7 separate regions of the Homo sapiens genome follow, and regions 1, 2, 4, 5, 6 and 7 are each linked to region 3. Evidence: promoter capture Hi-C in 16 types of primary human blood cells and fetal thymus (Javierre and others, 2016). All regions are on one chromosome and are shown on one strand. The core of a region is centred on a gene start or on the middle of the fragment in contact, and the rest is flanking DNA. Distances in the headings are between cores, read along the strand shown. Region 1 overlaps PAMR1 (peptidase domain containing associated with muscle regeneration 1). Region 2 has its middle 26 kb from the start of PAMR1. Region 3 holds the start of COMMD9 (COMM domain containing 9). Region 4 has its middle 19 kb from the start of FJX1. Region 5 holds the start of FJX1 (four-jointed box kinase 1). Region 6 has its middle 41 kb from the start of FJX1. Region 7 has its middle 19 kb from the start of FJX1.

Region 1 (3,580 bases), core at 64-2,563, 800 kb before region 3:
GACTTCTTGCATGCAAATATTCTTTCCTTCCTGTCCCCTGCACCCTGAACAAACCCCCTTACTCACATGGAGCGACTGAAGTATTGTTTAGAAATATTTATCCACCCCTCTTCCTTTGGGATGGCATATACTTCCCTACTTCACTCATTGGGAACTTAGCCATGTGACTTCTTTTGGCCAGTGGAATATGGGTGAGTGTGATGTGCGCAGAGGCCTTATGTGCACCTGTGTGTTTGGCTTGACCTCTTGTGCTTCTGCGACCCACCCTGAGAAGAGCATCCCCTGATGGTTGCTGTCCCTTCTGCCTAAGCCCTGCAGCCTGGAGCACAACCAGCCCAGGTCAGCCCAGTTGAAATCAGTGGAATGCCTGCCAACTCACAGACCCATGAGAAAGAACAAACATTTGTCCTTTGAGATTGTTAGTTACCCAGAAAAAAAAAAAAAAAACTGAACACTTTATCACCACCATCCCTGAAAGCTTCAACTTAGAAACTCTACTCTCTGACCATAATACCCATTCCACCTATGTGTTCCATTACTTCATTACCACCAAGCCTGCTTTTCCACTTAAGACCTCCTGTCCCTATTGCCCCTCTACCAGGCTCTTTCTGATTTCATGTCCTTCCCAGCTGGGATCCTTGGTCAGTCATGTCTCAGCTTATTCTTGGATCAACAAAACAACTGGTTTTACTCCCTTCTGCTGCTGCACTTCCAGAGAGCATCAGCCAACGTCCTAACTGACTGCATCACCTCCCTAGGAACTCTGGCTTCGACTGGGTCCTCCGTCTCGCTTGGATATGCTTTAAGCTTAACACCAGCTGGTGCCTTTTCTTGTTCCTCAAGTGGCTGCCCCAAACCTTTGGTACTTTCAAGCCCCAACCTCACTTCTACTCATTCTCAGCAGATATTTCACTCCCTACTTCCCAGAGAAAACGGGAGAACTCACCAGCAGGAGGCAGACTAGGACTGTGGTTAAGAACAAGAGTAAGGGGTCTGGAATCGTCCTGGGCTTTACCCCAAAGTGTACGGCCTCAGGCAAGTTACTTCACAGCTCTGAGCCTCAGTTTCATTATCTATAAAATGGGAGTATGTATTTTCATAGGGTGATTGTACAGATGAAACAAGACATGGCACATAAAGTGCTCAGCACAGTTCCTACCATATAATTACTAACAAACAAGATATGCTACCTATAAATAATTCTTTTCCTCCTGTCTCAGCCTAGGACAGAAAAGGAAGCTCCCTCTCCTTTAACTCTCACTTTTGTTCTTGATCTCATAGGAAGTTCTTCTCCTTCAGGATAACATGGTCTTAACTTCTTCAGTTAGTCTTACTCTAATATGTAATATTTTTAATCTCTCCTACTGACACTTTACTCACATTAGCTTAAAACCTGTTTAACCCTTTCCCATCTTTTTTTTTTTTTTTTTTTTTTTTGAGAGAGAGACAGAGATGAGGTCTTGCTCTGTTGTTTAGGCTGGAATGCAGTGGTGTAATCATAGCTCACTGCAGCTTCAAAATCCTTGGCTGCAGAAGCGATTCTCCCTCCTCAGTCTCTTGAGTAGCCAGAACTACAGGCATGCACCACCATGCCTGGCTGAATTTTTTTAATATTGTGTAGAAACAGAATCTTGTTTTGTTGATCAGTCTGGCCTTGAACTCTTGTCCTCAAGTAACCTGACTGCCTCATCCTCCCAAAGTGCTGGGGTTACAGGTATGAGCCACTGCACCCGGCCTTTCCCATCTTAATTGGTATTTTTCCACAGCTGTTTATTTACTCATATAAACTATCACCTTAATTCTCCCCTTCCTTGCTTGATTAAGCTTATTTAAAAGAAAGTTGTCTGTATTCTTTTTGTCCATTTTTCACACTTCAAATCTTGCCTTTTTTTTTTTTTTTTTTTTTTTGGAAACTGTCTCACTCTGCCCAGGCTAGAGTGGCAGTGGCATAGCTAATTTTGTATTGTTTGTAGAGACAGGGTTTCACCATGTTGCTCAGGCTGGTCTCGAACTTCTGGGCTCAAGTAATCCACTGCCTTGGCCTCCCAAAGTGCTGGGCTTTCAGGCATGAGCCACTGCGCCCTGCCAAATTTTATATGAAACTGCTATTGCTCAGGTCACCAATCGCATGCTAGCCATCAAACACAAAAACCTCTTTACTGCCTTCATCCTATGTGACCTTTCTGCCTTTGAAACACTGCCCCCAGCTTCCAGAACCCTACTCCTTCCTGGTTCTCCTCCTATCTCTCTATCTTTTCCCATCTCCTTCCTGGTTTTCTCTTCCTTTCCTTTTACATCTGTTGCTATTTCCTCTGCCCATGGTGCTCTGTTCACCTCATGCTTCCATCTATAACAGCCATAGGCATATCTCAAGTCTCCAAAATTCTCTTGAGCTCCAGGCACTTATTTCCTACTGTCTGCAGAGTCTCTTATAGATGTCCAAATTCCAGCTTATCTCATGTGGAACTCACCTTCTTTCCCCCACCAAACCTCTTCCCTTTTATTACTCACTTAACAGCATCAACTTCTAGACAGTTAATCAAACTAAGAATTTGAAAGGCAAACTCTTGAGATTCCTTACCCCATTCTTCAGTGAGTCTTGAGTCCTGTCACTCCTTCCTTTAAGCTCTTCTCACTCTAGTCTCCCTTCTTCATCCCCTGAAGCGCTGCAATCGCACTCCTAATGGCTACCTTTGGATATGGTCTTCCTCCACTCCAGCGGAGTTATGCTACAAGAGTTATCTGTCAAATGGTACTCCCCAGATTAAACCATCCTTCATCTCAGAACCATGTCTAAGCTCTGAGCCCTGGAACACTATGCCCTTCATAGTCAGGGCTTGCCACCCCAAGACCATCACCTTGCTCTAATCATACCTCATGTCACATGCTTCCTTGAACACACCTTGCATTTTCACACCCTGACCATACTATCCCTCTCCCTGAAATATCTTCCTGCTCTGCCAACTGAAGAGCAAAGGCATAGCTCAACCTTCACTTCCTGTCTGAAACCTTACCTCCCTCTCCCTGTCATTAACTGTTCTGTTAGCTAGTTCTCAGAGCACTTGGTCCATCCTCTACTTCACCACTCTTCCTTGGTTCCCCACTGCACTTGCAATAGCATCTAAATTCCTTACCTAGCTTACCTACCTACAAGGCTGTATTAATCTGTTCCCACACTGCTAAGAAAGACATAGCTGAGACTGGGTAATTTGTAAAGGGAAGAGGTTTAATGGACTCACAATTCCACATGCTGGGAAGGCCTTGCAATCATGGCAGAAGGCAAGGGAGAAGCAAAGGCACATCTTACATGGCAGCAGGCAAGAGAGCTTATGCAGGGGAACTCCTGTTTATAAAACCATCAGATCTCCTGAGACTTATTCACTACCATGAGAACAGTATGGAGGAAACTACCCCTATGATTCAATTATCTCCACCTTGCCCCACCCTTGACACATGGAGATTATTACAATTCAAGCTGAGATTTGGGTGGGGACACAGCCAAACCATATCAAAGGCGTGATCACACTCCTGCCTACCACTCCAACCCCATCAAATCCCCCTTTCCCTCTCATGTGCACAG
Region 2 (3,603 bases), core at 724-3,223, 740 kb before region 3:
GATGGGGAAACAGAGTCAGCTTCCCTTGAGATGTAAATTTCCTCATGTAGGAAATATTGCTGTGATATTAATCTCAGAGGTCTGCTTGTAAGTGCCATGCTTTCTCCAGAGCCCAGCATCTTAACCACAGCACCCAACTGTCTGTCCCGCCCCACTCAGCCACTGGCAGGATCTCCAGGCTCTCAGCTGAGCATGTGCTACTCTGTAAGTGCTGGTATACTTTCCAGTCCCCAGTGAGAAAATCACGGCATATGCACTGAAACCTGAAACCCTGACTATTCCAAGAGCCTCATCATATCTTTCAAGTGCTCACATTCCACAGCCCCAGCTCACCGGTGCTTTCTCACCAGAGGGCTTCAGCCTGCCTGTAACTTTGTCTCTTCTGTAGTGCCAAGAGACCACAGTTACCACTCACCAGGGATGTGGCTACAACCAAGCAAGAGTATCTTAAGAGCAGTAGTTGTCAAATGTGGCAGATTCTATCCAACCATTCCTGAATTCCAAGTCAGTCTTTACTATGACCACACTAAACCACTCTGCTTTATATTAGGTTGGTGTGAAAGTAACTGTGGTTTTTGCCTTTATTTAAAAAAAAAAAAAAAGATAATTGCAAAAACCGCAATTACTTTTGCAGCAATCTTTAACCAGCCTCTGAATTTGAAGCTAAAGGACTCTGACTTGAACACTGCATATGCACACTGACACCTGTGTAGCCTTGGAAATGCCACAACTCTGAATCTCAGCCTCTTCATCTGTGGAGTGGCATTGTACTTGGACACCCCAATCCTTGCCACATCTCTGAGATCTAACTTGATGCCACTCCCTGTTTGCTTCTTCCTTTTGAACAAATCCATGTTGATGGTCCCTGGCTTTAAATTTTGGTTCCTCTCCATATCACTGAGTCACCCATTCTCTCTTAAATTGCACACCAGCCAAAGCTCATGGTTAACTCCTAACCAGCCCTTATCAGAGTCCAGGTGTTTCCATGGAGATGGATATTGGAGAGTAATTGTGCACCAAAGGATCTGTCATTTTTTTTCTGTGCAGCCAAACTTTGGAGGGTGGCAGATGATGGTCAAGTGACCTTTGGCCCTGAAACCCAAGAATTAGTTCTGTGAGGAGGCAAGGGGACTGTTGAAGAGAGTAGATTCGATGACATGGCCAGTTCCCAGGGCACCAAATACACCTGGCAAGTTTGCATGCTGCATACAGGCGCCCAGGCTAGGGGACAAGTGGAGGCTGGAATCCAGCCCAGCTTCTACTGACCACGCCATGTGCCCATGGCTACATTCACCCAAAGGGGGTATCTTTCAGTAGATTGCACAAATGTACCCTACAAAGAATCCTAGCAGGTCCTGGTACATGTTAGGGCTCAGTAAAGGTTAATTGAATATTAAATTCTTTATTATCCATACAGACAGAAAATAGAAACCATTATGGCTGAAATCATCATAATCTCAACCTACTTCCCTGGGGAAGCAACACAGCAAAGTAATTAAAAGCAGAAGCTTTGGAGTTAGCCCAGGGTTTGAGCCCCAGTTCTGCCACAACTGTGCTGAATGATCAGAAGCAAGATGGGTAACTTCTCTGAGTTTCCATTTCATCATCTGTACAAGGGGAATAATTTGGGAGGATTAATGGTGACTATCATAACTACTATCTCCTGAATACCTCCTGTTTCAAGTGCTCTGGGATCTAGCTTTACAGGGAAATAGACCTAAGCTCAACAGAGGTAATCAAACATTCATTATTGTAATTGGTATTTATTAAAGTTCTAATGTGTTCTAGGCTCTGGAGGGCTTATGCCATCTATTGAGAATTTTCTATTTACCAGATAATGTGCTAAGCACTTTGTACACGTGGTCTCATTTATACCCACAACCGCCCTAGGAAGCAGGTACTATTATTATCTGCTTGCAGGGAACTTACAAACTAGTTAAGAAAGCAGTTGAGATTTAGAGCGTAACAAGATAGGATAGTATGCGCCAGATTGTGGGGTGATCCTACAGGGCTTCCCTCACCTAGGAGGGCTCCTCAGCCCTGGGAGCCTCCATTATGGATATACAGGGACAGCCCCAGAGTCACCCATTCATTCCTGATGCTGCCACGTAAAGTGGCACCAAAAACAAAGGTGAGCAAAACATGGACCCTTCCTCAATTTGCCACGACCTAGAGTGGAATTCCTGAATAAGTAAGCTCTGATAGAAAATTATCTCTGCTACACGTGAGCTTCTCTCCCACAGTTGTCCTTCTGGGTCAGCAAATTCATTTTTCTCTGACAGATGTGTTTTTATAAAGTGGTAGAAATAAAGCTCTGGTCAAAGTCGGGAGTGATATCAGCTGGGAACAGTGCTGGTCATTCTGAAGAAGCTAATTAACCAATGTAACATTCCTATCAATGACCACTCTCCAGTCCTGCTTGTTGAATTATTATAGATGAAGCTTCCTGGGGTAAGGAAAAATAGGTTTGGCATTCTGTTCAAGCATCATAACCACCCCCAGCCCTATATAAGGCCTCAAACAGTTCAGCCTGATTTTTGATGATGATAGGCATATCTTGGACCTGTAAATATTCTAGGACCAGGACCTCCTCCAGCCCCTATATAACTCCAAGACCCTGTTGGCTGCTACTAGTGTATATTTGATTGTCAGACTCCTCACATTTAGCAATACTTGTGCAAACTTATGCTCCAAGATAGCCCCAGAAACTGTTATATTCTGGGAGTTCTGCCTCTACCAAATCCCCAGCCAATTAAAAGGCCACTGTTTACATTACCTTCTCACAGAATTAATTCTTGGGCCTCAGAGTGAAAGATCACTTGACCATCATCTGCTACCCTCCAAAATTTGGTCACACAGACAAACAAGGACAAATGCTTTGGTGCACAATTACTCTCCAATATCCATCTCCACAGGGACACTTGGGACTCCGAGAAGGACTGGTTAGGAGTTAACCATGAGCTTTGGTGGTGTGAAATTTAAGAGCCAAAATTTAAAGCCAGGGGACCATCAACATGGATTTGTTCAAAAGAAAGAAGCAAACAGGGAGTGGCATCAAGGAAGAATGCGGAGATATGGCAAGAATTGGGGTGTGGAGGGGTGCTAGGCATTGAAGCCACCCGAACAGAGCAGGAAGCACTCTGCTTGGACATTCTTGGCTTCTGTGTAAGTGATGAGGAAGCCATGAAGGTCTTTGAGTAGCTGTGGGCAGCATAAAGACCACTGAGTATTTACACACACTCAGTAATGGGAGGATCACCCTGATTGCCTTGCGGCAGAACTCATGTGCTTCTACAAACTCAGGTTTTCACGTATTGTATTTAGATTCCTAGAAAGTCAGAGACAGAAGGAGATATGGCTTGGACCTGTGTCCCTGCACAAATCTCATGTCGAATTGTAACCTCCAATGTTGGAGATGGGGCCTGGTGGGAGGTGATTGGATCATGGGGGTGGATTTCTCATGAATGGTTTAGCAACATCCTGTCTTGGTACTGTTCTCACGATAGTGAGTTCTCACAAGATCTGGTTGTTTAAAAGTGCATAGCACCTCCCACTTCTCTTCCTCTTCTTCCTGCTCTGGCTATGTGAAGTACCAGCTCCCCC
Region 3 (3,515 bases), core at 733-3,232:
TATATTATATACATACTATACATAATAGTATATATACTATATTATGTATAGTTCCGCAGAATCCTGCAGAACTGAGGGAAACTGAGTAAAGGATAAATGGGATCTCTCTATATTATTTCTTACAACTACATATGGATTTATAATTATCTCATAATAAAAAGTCTAAGTATTTTTTTAAAAAAAGAAAAGAAAGTACACAGGACAGTAGCAATGAAAATCAATGAACTACTGCTACATAATGGTGAGCAAAAGAAGCCAGGCATAAAAAAAAAGTATATGCTGTATTATTCCATTTATGTTAAGTTCAAACATGGGCAATATTAAATGAATTGTATCAGAAGCAAACATAGAGGTTACCATTGGGGAAGAAAGTGAGGAAGCAAAGAAAGGGCGAAAGGGGGACTTCTGGGGTACTGGTAACATTTCATTTTTTGACTTTGGTGGTGGTTACATTGGTGTGTAATAAATCATTTAACTGTAAATGTATGGTTTATGCACTTTTCTGTATGTATACTACACACTAATCTTTTAAAGTTTTTAAAAGAAAAGAGTGCATAAGACCAACAGGTATAGGGGCGGGGGTAGGTACAGAGCAGCCAAAATGAAGGTGAAAAGGCACTGGGTTGGGAGCTGAGAGCCCTAGATTGCCAGTCCCAGCTCTGTTACTTCATTTATTAATTCATTTAACAGCTATTTACTGAGCACGTGCTGTGTGCCAGGTATTATTGTTCTACTTATTGGGCATTAACACTTGTGAACAAAAGAGTAGATCCCCTTAGGAGTGGAGAATGCTAATGAACACTGAGAAGGCAATTAAAAAATAAATAAGTAAAACAAAACAGAGACTATTACATGGACCGATGATGATGATGTGCCATAAATTGAGGAGAGTAACTCAACCCTCTTCACCTGGTGTTTAAAAAAAAAAAAAAAGAGAGAGGAAGAAAGGAAAGGTCCCTGATGGATCTTACATTCTTATGAGACAGACGGACAACGGGCAAATAGCTAGCGACAAGTTCTACGAAGGAAAATAAAGCTGCCCTTTCTCCTACAGGGCAAATCATAAGTTAAATAATTCCGGCCAGGCGCGGTGGCTCACGCCTGTAATCCCAACACTTTGGAAGGCGGAGGCGAGTGGATCACGCGGTCAGGAGTTCAAGACCAGCCTGGCCAAGATGTTGAAACCCCGTCTCTACTAAAAATACATAAATTTGCCAGGCTTGGTGGCGGGCGCCTGTAATCCCAGCTACTCGGAAGGCTGAGGCATAGAATTGCTTGAACTCGGGGGGCGGAGGTTGCAGTGAGCCGAGATTGCGCCACTGCTCTCCAGCCTGGACAACAGAGCTAGACTCCGTCTCAAATAATAATAATACTTCATTTGAGCTTTACAAAGCCCTATGAAGTAGGTCCCTTTCAACCTCACAACTTTTCAAATGATTATCAGGAGTATGTCCTGCCCCTTTCGCAGGTCAAAGAGAGTAGGGAAAATCTGGACCTCAAGGGAACATTGAACGCACAGGTCATTCGGAGGGCTGGGCAGACGCAGTAGGAGATAATTTCTTAATTGTGCAATGCAGGAGGGGCTACGGGATGAAATGGGGAACTGACAACGTGGGTCTAGCAATTACCACTTCAATGCACCAATACCGAAAACCAATCCCAAAGACTAATAGCAGGAGGTTGTACTGCGCCTTCATGCCCATTATTTTATTTTTTTTTATCTTACGTTCCTGTCAAAACGATATTTTGTTCTTACTTTTTAAAAGCTCAGAAAGACGCAACGATTTGCCTGGGATCACACAGAGAACAAGCAGCAGAGTTGTGGCTCCAAACCAGGGTCAATTTGTTCCCAATTCCTGCTCCGTCTAAAGTCTCGGAGACAAAGGGCCACCTCACGCTGTCCCCACCCCTTCGACTTACCTTGAGCAGGCTCTGGAGTGCTGCAAAATGCTCCGCTGTCAGGGCAGCCATCTTGCCGAAGTCACATGACCGTGGCACCCAGGGAAGCGAGGTCACGTGGCTGTCGCTGTTGTCGCGGGGCCTGCCGGGGGCTGTAGTCCTTCAGAGTGGGGGAAGGCGTTTCGGTTGTGGTGCTGCGGCAGTGAGCGCGGATCAAGACGGACGCGGCGGCTGGATGACTAAACCCCGAGACTCTAGAACCAAAGGACTAGGGGGACCAGGGCGGAGGATGGTTTACTCGGGGAGGAAATTGGCTTGACTTGTCTACTTACCAAGTCAGGGAAACAGGTTTTCCCTTGACCCATGTGGGTGGGCTGGCGCACTTGGGGAATGCACCTGCAAGCTTGGCAGGCGCCTTGGAAACGTAGTTGTTCAGGAGTGATCGGCGTACCAGTGTTTGGAATGAAAATGAGGCTGTGCATATCGGGCTTCTTGGAATTGACACACACACATGCACACATCCTGTCTTGAATGTAAAATTACTTCTGCGTATATAGTTTTTCAGCCTATGTAGTAGGTTGGAGCTGGTATTATTAGTATTATCCAGATTGGGAAATAATCATTTAGGGTTTTTAGTAACTTTCCCATAGTCATAGAGAAGATCTGATTACAAGAGCAGGTGAGGAAGTGTTTGGGAGAGGGGACAAGAGAGGAATGGAATGAAAGCTACTACCTAGCTAGGTTCTTGTTATACGGGGGTGAGATGGGGGAGGAGGTTAATGGAAATGATTTAGTTCATTTATTCAAAAAGGTAATTATAATGAATATAATTGTAAAGAGTGATTTTGCACTGGCAGTACTGGACTCTGATTTGCCCTGTTCTCAGAGACCGTACATCAAAACAGACATTTCCTTTATCTACCTTTAGTATTTGGGTGGCTCTTTTCTTTTCCTACCCTCCACTTTTTTTTAAGCAAATTCCAGCTCAAAAAATGGGTTCTGATATATTCGAGCTTAAGAAAGAATGCCCATTTGTGAAATTCCAGAAATTGGTAAGCTGCTAAGGACATTTGTTCCTTTGTCTCCTCTCCTCCCCCTTCCCCTTCCCCGACTCCATTTTCTGTGGGGATGTTGTCAAGGCCCAGGAAACCAAAAATCAAATTGTCTAAGGAGGAACCCATTCCTGGATTAGAAGATTTTAGAACCATTTTGTCACAGGGTCCTGATTCTAGCTCTCTTTCTTGGCCTCTCTTTTCCATGAACCCTCATGGCCTGATTCCTGGTTTCTGTTATAACTCAATGTAGGTTCTAGGTTTAACTCCTGCCTGTATCTATAGGGCTGGGCCCATTGTCTTGGGTTAATTGAATATTTGTTAAATAAACAACCACCCAAAAAAGTGATTAGACTAAGATGAAATTTTGTGACTTATTTGAGGATATTGCCTTGGTATTTGCAGGATTGTGCCTTCTTGTCTTACTTTAGAGTAATGAGGAGTGTGGTCACCAGCCTTCAAGATGGCCCTCAATGATCCCAGCCTCCTGGTGTTCACAACCTAGTGTAGACACCTCCCACCATGTACCAGGATTGGTATGCATGACCAATAGCAAATGGTGGG
Region 4 (3,567 bases), core at 150-2,649, 650 kb before region 3:
AACCTTTAGAGAGAGGAATTGTTCCTGCCCATTTTGCAGATAAGGAAACTAAAGCTCACTAAAAGTTGATCTACCTCAGCCTACATAGCTAATAAGTGACCAAAGGAAGACAGATTTTTAAAAATCCTCTTTATTTCATTGATGGGGAAACAGGCACAGAGTGGTTAAGCAACTTGCCCCATGTGACGTAGTTAATTAGTGCTGATCCAAACCCCAGTCTATCTGCTACTGAAGCCCATGATATTCACACCATATCCAGTGACTTCTCCCTTTGAGTACATCCCCTTATGATGCAGCCAGAATTGATTTTCCTAGAAAGCCCTGTCTGGGACACTCAGGAAAATGACTCTGCCAAGTGACCATTGAAAAGCCAACTGCAATTCCACAGCTCAGAGGGCTGTCTCGGGACCTCCTGCCACTTGCTCATGACCCACAAAGTCCAACACTTTTCTCTCTGAAAAGCTCACCTCTCTGTGAAGATCACCAACAGGTTAAAAGCAATATCAAAAGAATGGGTTTATTTATCCAATAGTGGTTACTTCTGATCTTCTCCTGTGACTTCCCTATGGAGACTGGGCTGGATGGGGGAGATACCACACCAGAGTGCATGATTCTTCTTGTGTGTGATCTGAGTGGCTTTTGCCGGATGCATACACGACCCAACCTGACTGCCTTGACAGGTGTGATATGAATGAGATGCTCCGGTTATTGGTGATAATGAGACTTTTCAGTGTCTGTCAGTTACGGAACAATTCATGTCATCCAATGAACGGCATCTTCTCAGATAACTTGAGGCAGGGCTGCTGAAACATGGAACACTTTAAGGAAGTCATTGGTGCCGGTTCTGGAAGGGTTAACACACCCCAATGTGCCTGCCTTTGCTCTTCCAGCAGAGAGAGGAGGGGGTGGGCTGGGGGTGGGATGTGTCTCATTCAGACACATATCCATAGCAAAACAGTGGAGAAACAGTTTTAAACCATAATGCTCCCTGTTCTGGCTTGCATACTGATGTCTCTGGGATTACTTTTCCCTGCTCTGGCAATCTGTCACCTATAACTGGGGAGGAAAGGCAGGCATCAGAGAGCCTAAATGATTAAGCGGTGTAGTCTTGTAGACCTGCTGCCTTGCAGGTCCTTGACCTCATTAGGTCACTGATGGTGGGACAGTCCTGCAGAAACACCTGAGAATCTCTGAGGGTACCTCTCATCACCCCTTCTACTGCAAATAATATACACAAAGGACATCCAGCCTCAAAAAATTAAACCTAGAATTATCATAGGACCAGCAATCCCATTTCTGGGTATACACTCAAAAGAATTGAAAGAGGGGAATTAAACAGATATTTGCACACCAGTGCCCATAGCAGCATTATTCACAATACCCGAAAGGTGGAAATAACCCAATTGTCCACCAATGGATGAATGGGTAAACCAAATGTGCTGTATACATACAACCTTAAAATCATTCAGTCTTAAAAACAAATGAGTTTCTGACATATGTTACAATGTGGGTCAACCTTGAAGACCTTATGCTAACTGAAATAAGCCAGACACAAAAAGACAAAATGGTGAGATTCCACTTATATGAGGTACATAGAGTAGTCAAATTCGTAGAGACACAAAGGAAGATGGTGGTTGCTAGGGGAAGAGAAAAATGAGGAGTTATTTTTTAATGGGTACAGAATTTCAGTTGGAATAATAAAACATTTCTATAGATGGATGTTGGTGAAGGTTGTACAATAACGTGAATGTACTTAATGCCACTGAACAGTACACTTAAAAATGGTTAACATGGTAAATTTTGTTATGTATATTTTACTACAATTCAAAAAAAAAAGATACCTAGCACAGTGCATGTAGTCAGAGTACTTACAAATCACAAGGCAAATGAAAGAGAGCTGGGGTATTCATTGCCATAATCTATAAAGTATCCTACAAATGTTAGCTAAATGTGCACACTTGCTTTACCTTACTTATTCTTCAGGGAGGTATCATCAGCTTCTTTTGACAAAAGAGGAAATTGAAGTTCAGAGAAGTAAAGTAAGTTGCCCAGGTTCCATGGCAGTGATAGAGGGAAGATGTAAACTTTGATCTGCCTATCATCAAATACAGTGCAATTTACATACTGCAAAATGCCTTAAAGTGTACCCCCTTTTCAGGGTGTTCACATGCCAGAGAGTCAGAGGAAGACAAATTCATCTGTTCTATGAAACATGGGAGACTTACCCTCAGAATACTTTAGAATTGGCCAAAGTAGAAGAAGTCAACTTGTAATTTATAGAACTAAAGTGTATATCTGCTCTGATAATAGCTAAATAGAGAGAGACCTGGAGAACTTCCCTACTGAAGATCCAACATCTCTCATGTGTGGCTTTGGCTGGCTTTGTAAGAAATAGAATCAGAAAATTCAAAGCATTCTATTTATAATCAAGAGAGCCATGCCTCCATGACGTTGGTAATAACCACACCCCATTGGTAATAACCACACACCACTGGTTATTTTTCTAAACCTACTTGGAATAACTTACTTATCCCTGGCCAGATCTCTCTCTTAGTTTGAAAAAGGTAATGATGTGTTATTCTCGCTATGTTTTTCTCATAGGTTTGAAGATCTTGGGGCTGTGTACTTTTCCCAGGTATTTGTTCCACTCTTAATGTTTATGTTAGCATATACATTATAGTCTAAGCCAGGCCTGGACTACTTCAGCATAGTGGTTCAGATCATGAGCTCTAGGGTCTTACCACCTGAACACAAATCCTGGCCCTACCACCTACTAGTTATATGACCTTGGGCAAGTTACTTCATTTTTCAGTTACTCAGTTTCTTCATCTGTGATATGGGGACAATAATAGCATACACTTCATTGGATTATTGTGAAATGTACCTGCTCTAATAAAACTACCCACCAGGGTGCCTGGTTTAAAATAAACATACAAAGTATATTGGCCATCATTATTAATTTCTTTGAACACATCGATGCATCTTACTTCCCAAATTCTAATGATATGGAAAAGATCTAAGATCACTTATTTTCAGAAGTGCACCCACTACTATTTGAGGAGAGGGAGAGGCAGGAACTGGGAGGTGAGGAAAGCTGGCTTTGAACCAAGTATAAGCATCACACATTCTCCTCTGGTACCAATTACTGTGATAAATTGAAGGTGACAAGTTATTTTATGACATAAATGCAAATCAGCATTCGCTTCACTGTTATTTTCCAATGCCCTGGCACTTTAATGGTCCCCATAAGTTTACTTCACTTGCAGCAAGTATCAGTATGTTCACAGTCAGCCAGAGAATTTATTTTTAGGTGGGGAGTGCAATGAACTGAGCCCACTAGCTGACTTAGAAAAATGATCACATTTCAATCCACAAATTATTCACAAAGCTAGTTAGCATTTGAGCCTTTGTTGGTGAAATAATGCAATAAATAGAGATGTGTCAGAAGGGCTCATTTCCACCTGCCAGACTTGACTCTAAATATTAGGCATTCCACACATTTGTGGGTGCCTGTGTGTTTATTAGAAAAACAAAAACTTATCCCAAAAGGTAAAATTCCCTGCAATG
Region 5 (3,775 bases), core at 1,276-3,775, 670 kb before region 3:
GTATTCTTTAATCAGCTGAACAATAACTCACAACCGTTGGACAAAATTGTTTTGCATTATTTAGTAGTAAGGTATTTAATTTAAAAAAACTTGATACATGCTACTTGCATCTCATTAGCATTCTAACGATGTATTCAGCAAATTGTTGTTGAACACACACTAAGTGCCAGGCATTGTGCCCAGGCAGCCATAAAACAATGGACAAGACAGACTCCCCAGGAAGTTTACAATGGTAGTTACTTACAGCTTTTGTTAGCAGCCAAAAAGACAGAGACCCCAACTACTTTGGATTTCTCCATATCCCCTAGGACATAGCTTGGTACACAGTAGACATTTAATAGTCTTCCGAATTTAACTTCAACAATTAATCATCCAGTTAAAAATGTCTACTTTTCTCCAATTAGATGATACTCTACTTATGCCCACTAGGTGGCGATCTTGCTTATAGTTTGCCCACGCTGAAAGAGGCTGCCTTTCAAATAAATACATATATATCCCAGTAGAAGTTAAACCAAAAGACAAAAAAATTAAATTTATTGAGTGCTTATTTAGTGTAATATACTATGTTAGGTGGTATAAGAAATAAAAAAATAAGACATAGTCCCTGCCTGCTAGGGAAAGATGAGGAGGGGCTTACATAGGCCAAAAAAATAAGACCTTTGAATGGATTAATATATTTCGATGCAACCATATGGGAGCCATAGTAATCTCATTATCAGATAAGAGTTATAAAATGGCATGGTATAGCCACCATGTGGTTGGGAACAGATTCAACAGTTCATCCAGTATGTACTTAACCACACCAGTGAAAACACTTGACTGTATCCTGGGTCAGTGCTGCAATACTCCAAATGTGGTTTTTTGATGCCTCTGCTCAGCCATAAACATAAGAGTGTCTGCTTTATCACCCTGGAACGCTCTATCACCCTAGAACGTTTTTTCTTTGGAGAATAAAACATAATCAGTGCCAACTGATGAGGTAGTCCAGTTGAAAACCCCCATGTGCACCTGATGGGAAGATGAAAGGAGAGAAAAGATACACACCATGTAAGGAAACAGATTTCAAACTCTGGCCTTTGAGAGGTGGATTCCACCATGCCCCTGATCTTGTGTCTACCCTGGGAATCTCAGTGTGGATCTGGGACTCATTCTGATACAGAGAGGTAAGGGAGGGCCGACTGGCATCCAAGTTTTCCTGGTAAATGTAACCCAGAGGTGGCTGGAAGATGTGTTGGGGTGAAGAGGTTGTTCATTTTGTTTTCTTTGCTCCTTCACCACCTCCCTCCCCCACCACCACCACCATTTCTTTTTCCCTTAAATCGTAAAAGCAGTAAATCAAATGCAGTATGGGATTGAGGTTTTTTTCCTTTCCATTTGAAAAATCCTTTTAATTGAAAAATCACATTTGGGGAACAAAGTGGTCAAATGACAGTGAATTTCAAACTTGAGAATGCTGACTTGATTAAAAAAAAAATACTGATCTTTCTTAATGGAGGGAAAATCAAGTGCATGCGGCCAGGAGACCTGAGTTTGACTTTTAGCTTCGCCCCTTGCTAATTGTGCAATCCTGAGCAACACCCATCCCTTCTCTGTGCCTCAGTTTCCTCATGGACAAAACGGTATCATTTCTTTCGAAAAGTCGTCCCTGACTCCCCTCTCCCCAACACGAGGTTGGATGGCTATAATCTCTCTTAGCAACCTGAGAGTCCCACTGGAATGTAAATTTCAGCAGCACTGGGACCCGGATCTGTGGATTTTGCTTCTGGTAAGCAGAACCAGAACTGAGGGGCAGTCGCTGTGTTGAATGGATGCATGAATGAATGGGAGATGGCCTAGGTGTTCAAGGGGCACGTGCACAGCGAGGCTTCATTCCCTGGGAGTCCGTTGGGAAAGGCAGAGCGGCCAATACTGATTGGTGCTGATGTGCGAGCTCGGAAAAGGGAGTGTCGGTTCAAAGTTGTTGGCTACAGCGGGTTCCTCTTTCCGCTGGAATCACATCCTCTGTGGCTCGGAGACATTCCCAGAGATTTACATAAAGCAGCGTGAATCACCCAGACAGAAACTGAGAAAGCAAAGGGACCCTGCCTGATCCTAGCCTGGCGGAGCTCGGAAAGAGGTGGAAATCTGTCTGAAGTTTGCAGGAGACCCGCGCTGCCTAGGCAAAGGGACCCGGCGACCAAGACACCCCCGCGAGGGCCCAGGGCGCGTCCCTCCCGCCAGGCCCCAGACTCCGGCTCTGCGCCACCCCCTCCTACGCCCCGGCGCGGGCGCAGCCAGTCCGGCTTCCTCCAGGCCCCCAAGTCCCGGACCGAGTGTGGGGCCGCCTCTCCCTCTCGGAAGGAGCCATCGCCGCTTTAAGTGGAAGAGGAGAGGAAGGGGGCGGGGGAGCGGGGGGCGGGGAGCGGAGGCGGAGGAGGGGGAGGGGGATCCCCCTGGCTCCCACGTGGTCCGGGCGCCTGTGAATCGCGCCCACCGGAGGGTCTCACAGCGAAATACAAAAGCAGCTGGGAAGCGGCGGGGACTCGAGTTCCCAGCGCCGGGCGGAGCGCCGGACAGAGCCCCGCAGCGCCCCGCGGCCGCGATGGGGCCGAAGCGCCCGAAGCCCCGGAGCCCACAAACTGCCGGGCCCGCCTCGCCGCCGGGACCCGGGTGCCTGGGCTCGGCTTGAAGCGGCGGCGGCGCACCGGCACAGCCGCGGGAGCATGGGCAGGAGGATGCGGGGCGCCGCCGCCACCGCGGGGCTCTGGCTGCTGGCGCTGGGCTCGCTGCTGGCGCTGTGGGGAGGGCTCCTGCCGCCGCGGACCGAGCTGCCCGCCTCCCGGCCGCCCGAAGACCGACTCCCACGGCGCCCGGCCCGGAGCGGCGGCCCCGCGCCCGCGCCTCGCTTCCCTCTGCCCCCGCCCCTGGCGTGGGACGCCCGCGGCGGCTCCCTGAAAACTTTCCGGGCGCTGCTCACCCTGGCGGCCGGCGCGGACGGCCCGCCCCGGCAGTCCCGGAGCGAGCCCAGGTGGCACGTGTCAGCCAGGCAGCCCCGGCCGGAGGAGAGCGCCGCGGTGCACGGGGGCGTCTTCTGGAGCCGCGGCCTGGAGGAGCAGGTGCCCCCGGGCTTTTCGGAGGCCCAGGCGGCGGCGTGGCTGGAGGCGGCTCGCGGCGCCCGGATGGTGGCCCTGGAGCGCGGGGGTTGCGGGCGCAGCTCCAACCGACTGGCCCGTTTTGCCGACGGCACCCGCGCCTGCGTGCGCTACGGCATCAACCCGGAGCAGATTCAGGGCGAGGCCCTGTCTTACTATCTGGCGCGCCTGCTGGGCCTCCAGCGCCACGTGCCGCCGCTGGCACTGGCTCGGGTGGAGGCTCGGGGCGCGCAGTGGGCGCAGGTGCAGGAGGAGCTGCGCGCTGCGCACTGGACCGAGGGCAGCGTGGTGAGCCTGACACGCTGGCTGCCCAACCTCACGGACGTGGTGGTGCCCGCGCCCTGGCGCTCGGAGGACGGCCGTCTGCGCCCCCTCCGGGATGCCGGGGGTGAGCTGGCCAACCTCAGCCAGGCGGAGCTGGTGGACCTAGTACAATGGACCGACTTAATCCTTTTCGACTACCTGACGGCCAACTTCGACCGGCTCGTAAGCAACCTCTTCAGCCTGCAGTGGGACCCGCGCGTCATGCAGCGTGCCACCAGCAACCTGCACCGCGGTCCGGGCGGGGCGCTGGTCTTTCTGGACAATGAGGCGGGCTTGGTGCACGGCTACCGGGTAGCAGGCATGTGGGACAAGTATAACGA
Region 6 (3,704 bases), core at 606-3,105, 710 kb before region 3:
ATCAGTCCAGGTTGGTAGCCACTGCTGTCAGTAGTGGATTTTTCTCTTGCTTTTCTGTCTTCAATTTTGACCTGTCAAATTTCTCAATCTCAGCCCTATTGGGTGTGTTGGACATGGTTGCTGAAGAAACCCATCCAGCTCCCTTCTCTTCTCACAATGACAGCTGCCACCAGGAGCCTCAGACCACTGCACTACCTGCCTCCTCACTCTCGCTCACCAATGCAGCCAGCAGCCTCTCAATTTCCCTGAAGTTCAAGATCAAGGCATTGGCAGATTTGGTTTCTCCTTGGAAAGCAGATGGCCATCTTCTCGCTGTGTCTTCACATGGTAGCCCCTTTCTGTATGTGTGCCCCGGTGTCTCTCTGTTTGTCCACATTTTCTTACAAAATTACCAATCAGATTGGATTAGAGCCCACCCTAACAGCCTCATTTTAATTCAATCACCTCTTTAAAGGCCCTGTTTCCAAATACAGTCACGTTCTGATGTGCTGGGGGTTAGGGCTTCAACATATGAATTTGAGGGGAGGACACAATTCAGCCCATAATGATAGCAAATAAATTTCAGTTATTTAAATTTGAGAATTTGGCAGACTTTTTATCAAAAATAAATAAAATGAGGCTGGGTGTGGTGGCTCACACCTGTAATCCCAGCATTTTGGGAGGCCAAGGCAGGCAGATCACTTGAGGTCAGGAGTTCGAGACCAGCCTGCTCAACATGGTAAAACCCCATCTCTACCAAAAATATAATAAATTAGCTGGGTGTGGTGGCATGCACCTGTAATCCCAGCTACTTGGGAGGCTGAGGCAGGAGAATCATTTGAACCTGGAAGGTGGAGGTCACAGTGAGCCGAGATCATGCCATTCTACTTCAGCCTGGGTGACAGAGCGAGACACCATCTCAAAATAAATACACAAATAAGACTCATCATTTCAAGAAAAGCAACTGACAGTATGTGTCGCCAATGATAAAATTTAAGCCTTCAACTGAAAATTAGAATTTGGAAAAATTTTATTTACTGCTATGAGCTTAATAGTTTCTCAATATTTAAGAGCTTTTCTAATGAAATCAGTGGTAATATTGACAAGTATGATTTTGTGATATTTTATAGTGAAATGTTTGAATATCTGGAATATATACATAACCTCAGTGAGCCAATATTTTCCACGATGTTACAAAATCATGCATGGGTAAAAGATCCCTTCAAATTTCAAGACAGACCAATGGATTTTATATAACAGGGTATGAAGAGTTCACCAATATGGTTTTAGTGAACCATATTAGTGAACTGAAAATAACCTTTAAGAAACTACCACTTAGCAAATTTTGTGTAGTATCAAAGGATAATATCTGCAAGCATGGTGGCTCACGCCTGTAATCTCAGCACTTTGGAAGGCTGAGACAGGAGGATTGCTTGAGTCCAGGAGTTTGAGTCCAGCCTGGGAAACATAGTAAGACTCCATCCATCTCTACAAATAAAAAATAATTAGCTAGCATGGTGGCATACACCTCTAGTCCCAGCTACTAGAGGAGCTGAGGTGGGAGGATCGCTTGAGCCTGGTAGGTCAAGGCTGTATTGAGCCATGATCACACCACTGCACTCCAGCCTGGGCAACAGAGCAAGATCCTACCTCGAATTACAAAATATAAGAATATTCACAATTATCTCAAAAGCCCATTAAAAAGCTTTTTCCTTCTCCAACTGTGTGTCTGTGCAAGGCCATATCTTCTTCATAAAATTCAACCAAAACAACATATCACAACAGATTAATTGCAGAAGCAGATATGAGAGTCCAGCTGACTCCTTTTAAGCCAGATATTTAAGAGATTTGCAAAAATATAAAGCAATGCGATTCTTCTGACTAACTGGTTTTCTGTTTTCAAAATGTTTTTTATTAAAAACGTTATTTCGTTAACATAATGCATTTGTTATTTTTAAATGAATCAACTGAAATTTTAATAAATGTTTTCTTATTCAGTTTTAATTTATCATATGGTAAATATCAGTGGATATAACCCACATAAACAAAAGCTTTTTGGAGGTCTTCATAAATTTTAAGAGTATAAGGAAGTCCTGGCCAGGCGCAATGTCTGATGCCTATAATCCTAGCACTTTGGGAGGCTGAAGAGAGTGGATTGCTTGAGGTCAGGAGTTTGAGATCAGCCTGGGCAACACAGGAGACCTGTATTAAATAAAAATACAAAAAAAATAACTGGGCATGGTGGTGTGCACCTGTGGTCCCAGCTACTTGGGAGGCTGAGGTGGGAGGATCGCTTGAGCCTGGGTGTAGAGGTTGCAGTGAGCCGAGATCACCTCGCTGCAGTCCAGCCTGAGTGACACAGTGAGACCCTGTCTCAAAACAAAACAAACAAACAAAAAAAGAGGTTCTAAGACCATAAAGTTTGAGAACCACTGATTTAATCGACAGTCATATTTTGAACATCTACTATATGCCAAATAGTGGGAACTTTATAACCACAGCTGTGGTATAAAAAAGAAAAGTCAGTCTTTCTCCTTAAGGAGCTCACATCTAGAAAAGGAGATGTTGAAACTAGGCATTACCATTCAGGACATAGGCATGGGCAAGGACTTCATGTCTAAAACACCAAAAGCAATGGCAACAAAAGCCAAAATTGACAAATGGGATCTAATTAAACTAAAGAGCTTCTGCACAACAAAAGTAACTACCACCAGAGTGAACAGGCAACCTACAAAATGGGAGAAAATTTTCCCAACCTACTCATCTGACAAAGGGCTAATATCCAGAATCTACAATGAACTCAAACAAATTTACAAGAAAAAAACAAACAACCCCATCAAAAAGTGGGCAAAGGATATGAACAGACACTTCTCAAAAGAAGACATTTATGCAGCCAAAAGACACATGAAAAAATGCTCATTATCACTGGCCATCAGAGAAATGCAAATCAAAACCAAAATGAGATACCATCTCACACCAGTTAGAATGGCAATCATTAAAAAGTCAGGAAACAACAGGTGCTGGAGAGGATGTGGAGAAATAGGAACACTTTTACACTGTTGGTGGGACTGTAAACTAGTTCAACCATTGTGGAAGTCAGTGTGGCGATTCCTCAGGGATCTAGAACTAGAAATGCCATTTGACCCAGCCATCCCATTACTGGGTATATACCCAAAGGACTATAAATCATGCTGCTATAAAGACACATGCACACGTATGTTTATTGCGGCACTATTCACAATAGCAAAGACTTGGAACCAACCCAAATGTCCAACAATGATAGACTGGATTAAGAAAATGTGGCACATATACACCATGGAATACTATGCAGCCATAAAAAATGATGAGTTCATGTCCTTTGTAGGGACATGGATGAAAATGGAAATCATCATTCTCAGTAAACTATCACAAGGACAAAAAACCAAACACCGCATGTTCTCACTCACAGATGGGAACTGAACAATGAGAACACATGGACACAGGAAGGGGAACATCACACTCTGGGGACTGTTGTGGGGTGGGGGGAGGGGGAGGGATAGCATTAGGAGATATACCTAATGCTAAATGACAAGTTAATGGGTGCAGCATACCAGCATGGCACATGTATACATATGTAACTAACCTGCACATTGTGCACATGTACCCTAAAACTTAAAGTATAATAATAATAAAAAATAAATAAATAAATAAAAAAGAAACATTATATAATCATAATAGATTTATTT
Region 7 (3,276 bases), core at 549-3,048, 690 kb before region 3:
TGTTACATTGATTGTCCACAGTGAATCCCATCTTCCTGTATCCATACCCTTGCTAGCTCCCTTCCACTGATGCTGGGCTTGGCCATGAGCTCTGCTTTGCCAGTGGAACATCACCAAATGAGACATCAACAGAGGTGGATAAGTGCCTGTATATTGGGGCTTGCCCTCTTAATATACTGCCACTACCATGAAAGAAACCTAAGATATCTTGGTGTAGAAGCTACCACCTAGATACTCCAGCTAGCAGCCCCACCTACTCACTTACTGCAGAGCCCAAGGCCCTCCATCATCTTGCCCCGCCTGCTTCTCCAACCCCTTCCTCCTCCCCTCCCCATCTCTTTCCTCCTCTCTTTCTATTCACACTAACCTTCCTTCTGACCCTCAAACCTGGCAGATTTGTTCCCATCTCAGGGCTTTTGCCCTTGATGATCTTTCTGCTTGGAAAACTTCCCCCAAAAATTCATACATAGCTGTCCTTTTTCTCTCATTGAGGGCTCTGTTTATTGTCACCCCCTGCTACCGCCTTCTCTGACCTGCCTAGCTAAAACAGCCCCTCCCATATGCAGTCACTCTACATCACAGTACCTATTTTATCTTCTTGATGGCTCTTAGACACACCTTAAGTTATTTGTGTCTGCTTGGGATGTCTACTCCTACTGAAAGGGGACCCCTTGGGCACAGGGACTCTTCTTTGCTTACTGCTGTTTCCCAGCCTGGCACACTGCCTGGCTCTTAATAGGTACTCACAAAATATAGATTGACTAACAGACAAGTAGATAGCAGAGCTGGCACTCAAACCTGGGCAACCAACTGTTCCCCAGTTGCTGAGGGGTTTTCCAGGATATGTGACATTCAGTGCTAACACTGGGAAAGTCCCTGGCAAACCAGAAAAGTTGGTCATGCTAACTCAAACCCAGTTCTTCTAACTCTGGCCAGTGTTTCTTCCTCTGCCCCACCCCTGGGATTCTAGGACATCTCATGTAAAGTCAGAGACCTCATGCTTTACAACAGTGCCTGACACAAAGCAGGCAAATGACAAATATGTGTTGGATAAATGAATGGATGAAACGAATGAGTGAATGACCTGGCTCCCGTAAGTAGAAGCCAAACAGAATCTCCCTGTGTCAGCTTGTTTGAACCATGTGGCCTGGGTACTCTGCAGCATCATTCTGTGGGTATAACTAGTCATCTCAATATCCTAAGTTGTGAGCTATAATAAAGTCTTCAGGCAGTCCCCAGTTCATGTCTTTTGTTTACTCCACCCTCTGGCTGCTGGTTCTCAGCTATAGCTGCATTGAAGGGGCTTGGACACAAACAAAGAATCCAGAAAACTGATTCAGATACATTGGAATATTTTTTTCTCCTTGGAAATTTTTTTGCTTCTCGTTAGAATTTGTTGATAAACCCTGCAGTCCTGCACATGGGGATGGAAAACGGAGTGGATGCACAAAGGTAAGTTATGATGGCCTGATGGCCCCTTCTTAGCTGCAGCATGGAGCCACGAGAGTGGAAGAAGGCAAGTGAACATGCCCATGCTACAGTGGAACAAGTCTGGAACTTAACTGGGGAGGGGCAGAGAACAAAACAGACTGCTCTGGTAATCAGGTTCTGAGCCGAAAGGCAAGGAACAGTCTCCCCTCTGCAGTACACAAAAATACATGTTCAAGGCCTCAGAGTTTCTGCAGCTGCAGAGAGGATGGCTTTGGAACCCAAATGACCTGAGTCAAACTCTCAGCTCTGCAATTAACATATCAGTCACCCCTCTCTATCTGTGGGTTCTGTATCCATGGATTCAAAACTAAATGCAGATCTGAAATATTGGAGGAAAGATAAAAAATAATAAGACAGCAATTAAAAATATAAATTTTAAAATACAGTATAACAACTATTTTCATAGCATTTGCATTGCACTAGACATAAGCAACCTAGAGATTATTTAAAGAATACAGGAGGATGTGTGTAGGTTAGACACAAATACTACACCATTTTATGTAAGAGAGTTGAGCATCTGTGGATTTTGGTATCCACAGGGATTCCTGGAATCAATCCCCTGTGAACACCAAGGGACTGACTATACATATGTGACCTTCAGCAGATTATTTAACCCCTCCAAGTCTCAGTTTCTTCATCTGTAAATTGAGATTGTTGTGAGAACTGGAGATAATGGATGTAAAGCAATTGTCACGTAAGAGGCACTGATAAACAGTGGCTGTCTTTCTCATCATTACGTTAAAAGTTTATAACCAAGGGAGAGTTACTTGAGCCAAGGATAGTAGGTGGCTCTGTCCCTGGATAATGAACAATTATCAATGCAGTTATGCTTTAGGGGCTGGCTTTGGCATCCTCACGGTGAGGTGAGAGTCATGAGGCTGGTGGTTTAGGATGCTCGCAACATCGCCTGAGTAAACCCTTCCCCACCCTCCAGCACTAATTCCTGACTTTCATTTCAATTTAATAGATTTGGGTTTAACAAGATAATTATTATACTTGAAATAAATACTGACTGGCCAGAAATGCAATGCTTACTGCAAATTAGGAACAAAGAGGCCTCCTCAGTTACATCTCTGGTATATCTTAAACACAGCTTTTGAATAATTAATTTGCCATTTCGATAACACATAATAACCAGCCTATTAAGCCAAGAATCTTGCATTTATTAAATGCTAACTTAATGGCAAACAAACAAAACCTGAGTCAATAGTTGCTTTGCCAAATTTAAAAGCTCTCCTCCCTGAGGATTTGTGTGGGAGGCAGACCACATGGTTGGGGCGTGTGGATCTTAGGAGCAGGCAGTAGGAAACTGAAGGTGCATGCAGGAGGATATTCAAAACTCAGACTCTGCTCAGGTGGGAGGATATTACTAGGATCGTCTGGGGTAAGTGCCAAAGGAACCACCTGGATTTTCCACCAACGCTGTACCAAAGCCATAACATGTGTTTTTTGTTTGGGTTTTCTGAATGTTCTTAATGCCTGAAGATGGGGTCGGGTGCAGTGGCTCGCACCTGTAGTCCCAGGACTTTGGGAGGCCGAAGCAGGTAGATCACTTGAGCCCAAGGGTTTGAGACCAGCCTGGGCAACATGGCAAAACACCGTCTCTGCAAAAAAAATTAAAAATTAGCCAGGCGTAATGGCATGCACCTGCAGTCCCAGCTACCTGGGAGGCTGAGGCAGGATAATTGCTCTATCCCAGGAGGTTGAGGCTGCAGTGAGCCATGATGGTGCCACTGCACTCCAGCCTGGATGACAGAGCAAGACCCTGTCTCAGAAAAAAAAATG

The links. Contacts are between HindIII fragments. The CHiCAGO score rates a contact against its expected background, and 5 or more counts as called.
Region 1: a fragment that was not itself captured here is called in contact with the fragment with the promoter of COMMD9 in region 3 in 2 of 17 cell types (endothelial precursors and M1 macrophages); the score reaches 5.6 in endothelial precursors.
Region 2: a contact is called between a fragment that was not itself captured here and the fragment with the promoter of COMMD9 in region 3, in 1 of 17 cell types (endothelial precursors). The highest score is 5.2, in endothelial precursors.
Region 4: a fragment that was not itself captured here is called in contact with the fragment with the promoter of COMMD9 in region 3 in 10 of 17 cell types (activated CD4 T cells, naive CD4 T cells, non-activated CD4 T cells and 7 more); the score reaches 9.8 in activated CD4 T cells.
Region 5: a contact is called between the fragment with the promoter of FJX1 here and the fragment with the promoter of COMMD9 in region 3, in 16 of 17 cell types (M1 macrophages, naive CD8 T cells, erythroblasts and 13 more). The highest score is 16.7, in M1 macrophages.
Region 6: a contact is called between a fragment that was not itself captured here and the fragment with the promoter of COMMD9 in region 3, in 1 of 17 cell types (monocytes). The highest score is 5.3, in monocytes.
Region 7: a fragment that was not itself captured here is called in contact with the fragment with the promoter of COMMD9 in region 3 in 4 of 17 cell types (total CD4 T cells, naive B cells, naive CD4 T cells and 1 more); the score reaches 7.0 in total CD4 T cells.

Annotation. Positions count from the first base shown.
Region 1 is chr11:35,486,785-35,490,364 of GRCh38, forward strand. The region is part of intron 3 of PAMR1 (peptidase domain containing associated with muscle regeneration 1); the gene reads right to left. Among named protein-coding and RNA genes, the nearest start is that of PAMR1, 37 kb to the right of the region's middle. The HindIII fragment of the contact is 1,017 bases long and covers 806-1,822 here.
Region 2 is chr11:35,549,703-35,553,305 of GRCh38, forward strand. No RefSeq gene overlaps it. Among named protein-coding and RNA genes, the nearest start is that of PAMR1, 26 kb to the left of the region's middle. The HindIII fragment of the contact is 934 bases long and covers 1,507-2,440 here.
Region 3 is chr11:36,287,442-36,290,956 of GRCh38, forward strand. It overlaps COMMD9 (COMM domain containing 9), which reads right to left and starts at 1,983. Exons shown (of 6, transcript NM_014186.4): 1 at 1,921-1,983. The coding sequence starts at 1,971. RefSeq lists enhancers at 1,345-2,047, 1,884-2,133. The HindIII fragment of the contact is 8,947 bases long and covers 1-2,300 here.
Region 4 is chr11:35,635,437-35,639,003 of GRCh38, forward strand. No RefSeq gene overlaps it. Among named protein-coding and RNA genes, the nearest start is that of FJX1, 19 kb to the left of the region's middle. The HindIII fragment of the contact is 5,185 bases long and covers 1-3,567 here.
Region 5 is chr11:35,615,935-35,619,709 of GRCh38, forward strand. It overlaps FJX1 (four-jointed box kinase 1), which reads left to right and starts at 2,526. Exons shown (of 1, transcript NM_014344.4): 1 at 2,526-3,775. The coding sequence starts at 2,703. RefSeq lists silencers at 2,114-2,203, 2,234-2,563, 2,385-2,546, 2,644-2,713, 2,734-2,993 and 1 more and enhancers at 2,846-3,480, 3,481-3,775. The HindIII fragment of the contact is 8,334 bases long and covers 1-3,775 here.
Region 6 is chr11:35,575,748-35,579,451 of GRCh38, forward strand. No RefSeq gene overlaps it. Among named protein-coding and RNA genes, the nearest start is that of FJX1, 41 kb to the right of the region's middle. The HindIII fragment of the contact is 346 bases long and covers 1,683-2,028 here.
Region 7 is chr11:35,597,891-35,601,166 of GRCh38, forward strand. No RefSeq gene overlaps it. Among named protein-coding and RNA genes, the nearest start is that of FJX1, 19 kb to the right of the region's middle. RefSeq lists an enhancer at 766-995. The HindIII fragment of the contact is 7,647 bases long and covers 1-3,276 here.